Regions from separate parts of the Homo sapiens genome. Here region 1 is linked to region 2. The links are contacts of gene promoters, found by promoter capture Hi-C in blood cells and fetal thymus (Javierre and others, 2016). All regions are on one chromosome and are shown on one strand. Each heading gives the region's core, a stretch centred on a gene start or on the middle of the fragment in contact. The rest is flanking DNA. Distances are from core to core; before and after follow the strand shown.

Evidence for each region. The method cuts DNA at HindIII sites, captures the fragments that hold promoters and counts their contacts. A CHiCAGO score of 5 or more calls a contact.
Region 1: the fragment with the promoter of CC2D2A here is called in contact with the fragment with the promoter of FAM200B in region 2 in 17 of 17 cell types (M2 macrophages, M1 macrophages, M0 macrophages and 14 more); the score reaches 21.8 in M2 macrophages.

The regions. Positions count from the first base shown.
Region 1 is chr4:15,468,416-15,471,157 of GRCh38, reverse strand. CC2D2A (coiled-coil and C2 domain containing 2A) reads right to left here and starts at 1,276. Exons shown (of 37, transcript NM_001378615.1): 1 at 1,101-1,276. The HindIII fragment of the contact is 6,808 bases long and covers 1-2,742 here.
Region 2 is chr4:15,680,386-15,683,085 of GRCh38, reverse strand. It overlaps FAM200B (family with sequence similarity 200 member B), which reads right to left and starts at 1,259. Exons shown (of 2, transcript NM_001145191.2): 1 at 1,185-1,259. It also overlaps a transcript of FBXL5 not described here. RefSeq lists enhancers at 990-1,039, 1,050-1,289, 1,460-1,759. The HindIII fragment of the contact is 4,207 bases long and covers 145-2,700 here.

The DNA of each region.
Region 1 (2,742 bases), core at 27-2,526, 210 kb after region 2:
TTATCTTATTCTACAAGTTATTCCAGCTGCAGTTTCCCTTAGCATAAGGTTAGTGACCAATAGCTTTATAGAATCATTTAATCAGCTCGATATAATGTACACTGGCCTTGAAGAGTACACATGAGTACCATATTTGAGCTGTGTTACGTGATATATGACCAGTGCATTTACATGATGTGCTAAGTACTGGAAGCCCCTCCCTGGATGTCATCCCACTGTCCTCTCAGTGTTTTTATAAATCTCTTATGGCACTTAGCTCATTGTACTCTTATCATGTGTTTATAGGTCTGTTTTCCCAGCAAATTCTGAGCTTCTGACCTAGTCTAATTTATGTTTGCACACTCTAAACTTAAATTCATTGCCTGGTGCATTGTTGATGCTCCATAAATGTTTGAATGAATGACTCTATAAGTGAGCTCTAGGATATATATATATATATATATATATATATATATATATATATATATAGAGAGAGAGAGAGAGAGAGAGAGAGAGAGAGAGAGAGAGATTTCATGCTGGTGCTGAATTTATTTGCAGAAAAGGTTATATGAAAATGCAGTAGCAAACATATTTCTTATTTGACTTTATTAGCTTTTCATACCACCTCTTTGCAATGAAGGGAAACAAACAATCAGCTTAAGTTGTAGCCAGTACATTTTCTTGAAGTCTTTGGAAAGCACAGCAACTCTTAGCACTGTGGTTAGTAGCCCTTTCTCTGTCTCATACCAAGAAAAGTGTATTTTGCAGTAATTAGTGCTTCTCCCCTTAAGCCAGTTTGAACTAAAAGGCCCATAAATGCAACACGCAGCTAATGTTTCACAGAGCTTTGGTCAGAGAGCATTTTCACTCAGGACTTGTGATGAACTGGACTTACATTTCCTGCAAACCAGATACCAGATAGCAGCTCAAATCAAAGCTGCCAAGTAATGGTCTATGTTCCCATTTCAGAAAGTAAAAACATAAATAACGATGAGAGCCCCTAAATTTACAATTCATTAAATCCAGTCTCACGGTATCCTGGAGAGGCTGAACTTCAAGCCGGGTAACTGAAAACAGGAAATCACTGTTGCAGCCTAAAGTCCGGTTAGGGACTGATTTACCTTAAGAAACTTTACAAAAGGCACTTTGCAGATTCTGCATTCTAGGATGGAAGTGGAGAGAGACGGTGCTGTTGAATCTTTTAAAAGGGTCCGGAGGGAAAGGCTGAGTGTTGGAGATGCCCCTGGGCTCCTCCCTGGGAAGCTGCAGCCATGTCTTGGAGCAAAAACACCAGCTTAGCAACCCGTTCCTAAGGAAGGTCACTCGGTAGCTTTTTTTTTTTTCCTTTAAAGTGACAGGCTACTTCCAGTAGTGGAGTACAAGCATGCTGGGTAAGCAGAGACGCACAGCCTGCAGTAGAAGGACGGAGAGAAATCAACATGAGCAGCACTGGAAATTAGGTCAAGCCTTAAGAGCTGCCCCTCCCTCATGTCATCCGGTCGTCTTGCATTTCCAATGAAGAACAGGCTCAGAGGTGGGGGGATTTAGAATCTTAAAAGGTCGTCATTACATGGTGAAGCTGTCTAACGTGGCAGCAGCAAAAGCTCTGTGGAGGTGCTGCAGAGTACCAACAAATGTTGCACTTGAGTGTTTTCCAGTTAAAAGTGGAAGGTTGAACGCACAAGTTTAATCTTTGCCTATTCTCTGAATCCCACTGCAATTCCTGAAAACGGATATAAATGTTATGGCTCAAAAAAGTTGGAAAAAAAAAAAGAGGGAGAGGTAGGAGGCAAAGTAGCTGGAAGAGTAATAGAATGAATGGAGCCAAGGAAACACACTCCAATAGACTAGTGTGTATGTGCACATGTGTTTGTGTGTATTTGTGTCTGTGTGTATGGTGTGTGTATGTTTGTGTGTATGTGTATTGACTGTATCTTCTTATTTTCTGTATTCTTGATGCTCTGGCATTTGGAGCCTTGATCCTGGAGAAACTGATTCTCCTATGTTAGCTAATTTCTAGAGATAGCAAATGATTCCCCTGAAATATGCAAAGTCTCCTTTGATATACAAGCCAACCAATCCAGAGCCCACACAACCATCTCCATTATCAAACTCTCACACACTAAGCCAATATTCCTCCTGTCCTAAGTCACCCCAGGTCCAGATACCAGACCACTATAGCCCAGAGAACACCACGATTATTCAAGCTATCCACTCCTAAATTTATGCAGCACCCTACCCTGCTTCACCTATTCCTTCCTGGGAAAACCCTAGTAAAGGCTCTGTGCTGTACTCTGCTGTCTCCGTTCTGCCTTCTGACCAACATTGGTTCTTCCCTATGTGGTCCTGTGTGGCATGCCATGTTCTATGATTTGAATGTGTCTTCCCAAAAGCATGTATTGGAAACTTAATCCCTAACACAATGGTGTCGGGAGGTGGCACCTAATGAGAGGCAATTAGGCTGTAGGGCTCTGCCCTCATAAATGCATTAATGCCATTATTGCAGGAGTGGATTCCTTATAAAAGAATGAATTTGGCCTCGTTTTCTCTCTTTCTCTTTCTTGCTCTCATGTTTTCTTGCCTTGCACCATAGGATGGTGCAGCAAGAAGACCCTTGCAGGATGCCAGCCCCTTGATCTTGGACTTCCCAGCCACCAGAACTGTGAAAAATAAATTTCTGTTCATTATAAATTGCCCAGTCTGTGTATTCTGTTACAACAACAGAAAACGAACCAAGACACCATGCTTCTTGTTTCTAGGGAT
Region 2 (2,700 bases), core at 10-2,509:
ACTAATCTTTTATATCCTAAGATATATCTCTAGTGCGCTGTATCATCTTCTGAAAATACAGCTCTAATCAGCTTCCTCATAACTGGAAAAGCATTTAATGGCGCCGAGCTTGTGTAAGCTCTTCAGGATAATATCCTTTAAGCTTAAGCCTCATCTTTCCAGGTTTCTCCTTCATCACATGATCTCCATACATTCTACATTTCAGTACTAAAAGTATGGAAATTCTTGAAATAGTTCATGCACTTTCATGTCTCTGCTTTTGGCTAGTATTCCTTTTGCCTGGAATACTCTTGTTGGGTCACATGAAGTCCTATTTATTCTTTTCTACTTAGTTCAAATGCTACAGCAGCCATGCATTCAACTAACATTTAGCTACCTACAGTGCCTAAAGTATGTCAGGCACTGGAGATACTAAACAATGAACAGTGACATATTAAAATAACAGAATATCTGTTCAGCTATTAAGATGAATAAGGTGGAGTTACACAACACTGACAAATCTCAAAAACATTATGTAAAACAAGCTAGCTGCAAAAAGATGTACACATTACAGATTGCATAAAGGTGGTTAGGAGAGTGGTTTCCTTAGGCAAAAGGAAAGAGAATGAGACGGGGTAGAGCTGACAAAGGACTTCAATCACTTATATAATCATTTATTTCTCCAATTCAGTGGTGAGTACACATGTGTTATAGTTTTGTTTCTACCTTTTTTCTGTCTAAAATCGTCTATTTAAAAAAAGCATCTTTAAGGCTGGATACCTTCCTGAAGGCACTGGAAATCTGTCATACTGCCACTAACTTAAAATTACCTTCCACCTCTTGCATTTCCCTTTGTTTCCTGTTTTGACATTGCGCACACATTAGTTAGTACACTAGGCCTTAAGAGTGGAAACTGCCAGGTACCAGCTTTAGCTAGATTAAAACATGACCCTCTTCCCAGGAGACTCCTGACCGGTTTTCTCGTCCTCCAGGGACCCAGCTAGGATTTCAATGAACTTTGGCCTGAACCCCTCGGCCGACCCTAGAATAATCGCCCTTCAGGCCCGGATTGCTTCTGCTCTCACCTTCCCTCAATTCATACGGGGGGCAAAACCAGACTGTATTTCCCGCAACGAACCCTGGAATGCTTCGCTTTAGCGGACTCCGGTCCACTCCCATCAGAGGATGCCCTTCTTTCGCCTCACCTCCAGCCCAGCCGCAGCGACCCGGCCGGGCCCAGCGCTGCAAGCCTCAGGTCTCTCCAGCAGAGCTGCGCCTCTGCTCTCCCCACACTTCCCTCCGCAACACCACTTCCGGCCTACCTCACAAATTCCCCATTCCAGCCGAAAAGAACTGGATCGGCCCTCTGCGCATGCGTGAGACCGGGGCGGTGTCCGGGGGTGCCGGGAGCGGGCGGTGCAGGCTCCACTTTTCCACTTCCCTACGCTCTGTCGGCAGTCTCGCGGGATTTCCGCCTCTCGCGGGAGTTATTTGAATGCCAGGGCGGTAACGACTCCCTAGGCGCCTGGGGCCCTCTGACAAGAAACCCTAGGAGACACCGCGGAGAACTCTGCCTCTGAGCTGGTGGGCGGGCCGGATGTAGCCGAGCGCGGACAGGGCTAGTCCGGACAGAGTCCCAGAGCCATGGGAGCGAAAAGAGACTGCTGCGGATTAAGGAGGCCTTTCGGTTGGCGCAGCAGCCACACCACAACCAGGCGAAGCAGGTAGTGGCGCTGAATCGCTCCTGCCGCGGGGTAAGCGCTCCCGGCCCGCGCCCGCCCCAGCCCCGACCTGGCGGGGCCAGGACGCTGGTTCATACACTCCAAGGTGATTTTCATAGTCTTTGTGGAAGAATTAGAGAATTTTGAACTTTGATATCATTGCACGTGTTTACTTATTTAGAGAATCGCATTGTGTTTAATAATCATAGTATTCCTGTGCGACTCTTTAGGTTAGCAGATCATTGATTTTTAACATAAAACTGCATTTCATTAAATAGATTTAAATATGTATGTATATTTCTGTCCTCTAATGATTGTAACAAAGCAGATTTCTTGATCATTAACAAGATAGGTTCGTGCAAATAAGTGCATCTTTGTCACAAACCAAATTTTTTTGTGGTTGAGATATATATTTATATATATATGTGAAACAAAAAACATATAAAGGAGAATATATATATATTCTTATATATATAATATATACTGCTTTATTTTTTTGGGTTGACATATATATGTCATATATAGTTTTTTTTTAAATTCTACCTTAAACAGGGAAACATGTTAGATACAGGAGCTTGAATTTCAACTCTGAAACTTAATGCGACTTTATCAGCATTTCTCTTTCTCAAGCTACTTACTTCTTGTAGGATTACACAGTCAAATTTTTAAAAATTTTTGATTCTCCAACTGGATTTTTTTTTTTAATTTTTGAGACGGAGTCTCACTCTCTCGCCCAGGCTGGAGTGCAGTGGCGCAGCCTCGGCTCACTGCAACCTCAGCCTCCTGGTTCAAGCGATTCCCCTGCCACAACCTCCCGAGTAGCTGGGATTACAGGCGACCGCCACCATGCCAGGCTAATTTTTGTATTTTTCAAAAATACAAAGACGGGGTTTCACCATTTTGGCCAGGCTGGTCTCGAACTCCTGACCTCAGGTGATCCACCCACTTGGGCCTCCCAAAGTGCTGGGATTACAGGGGTGAGCCACTGCACCCAGCCTCT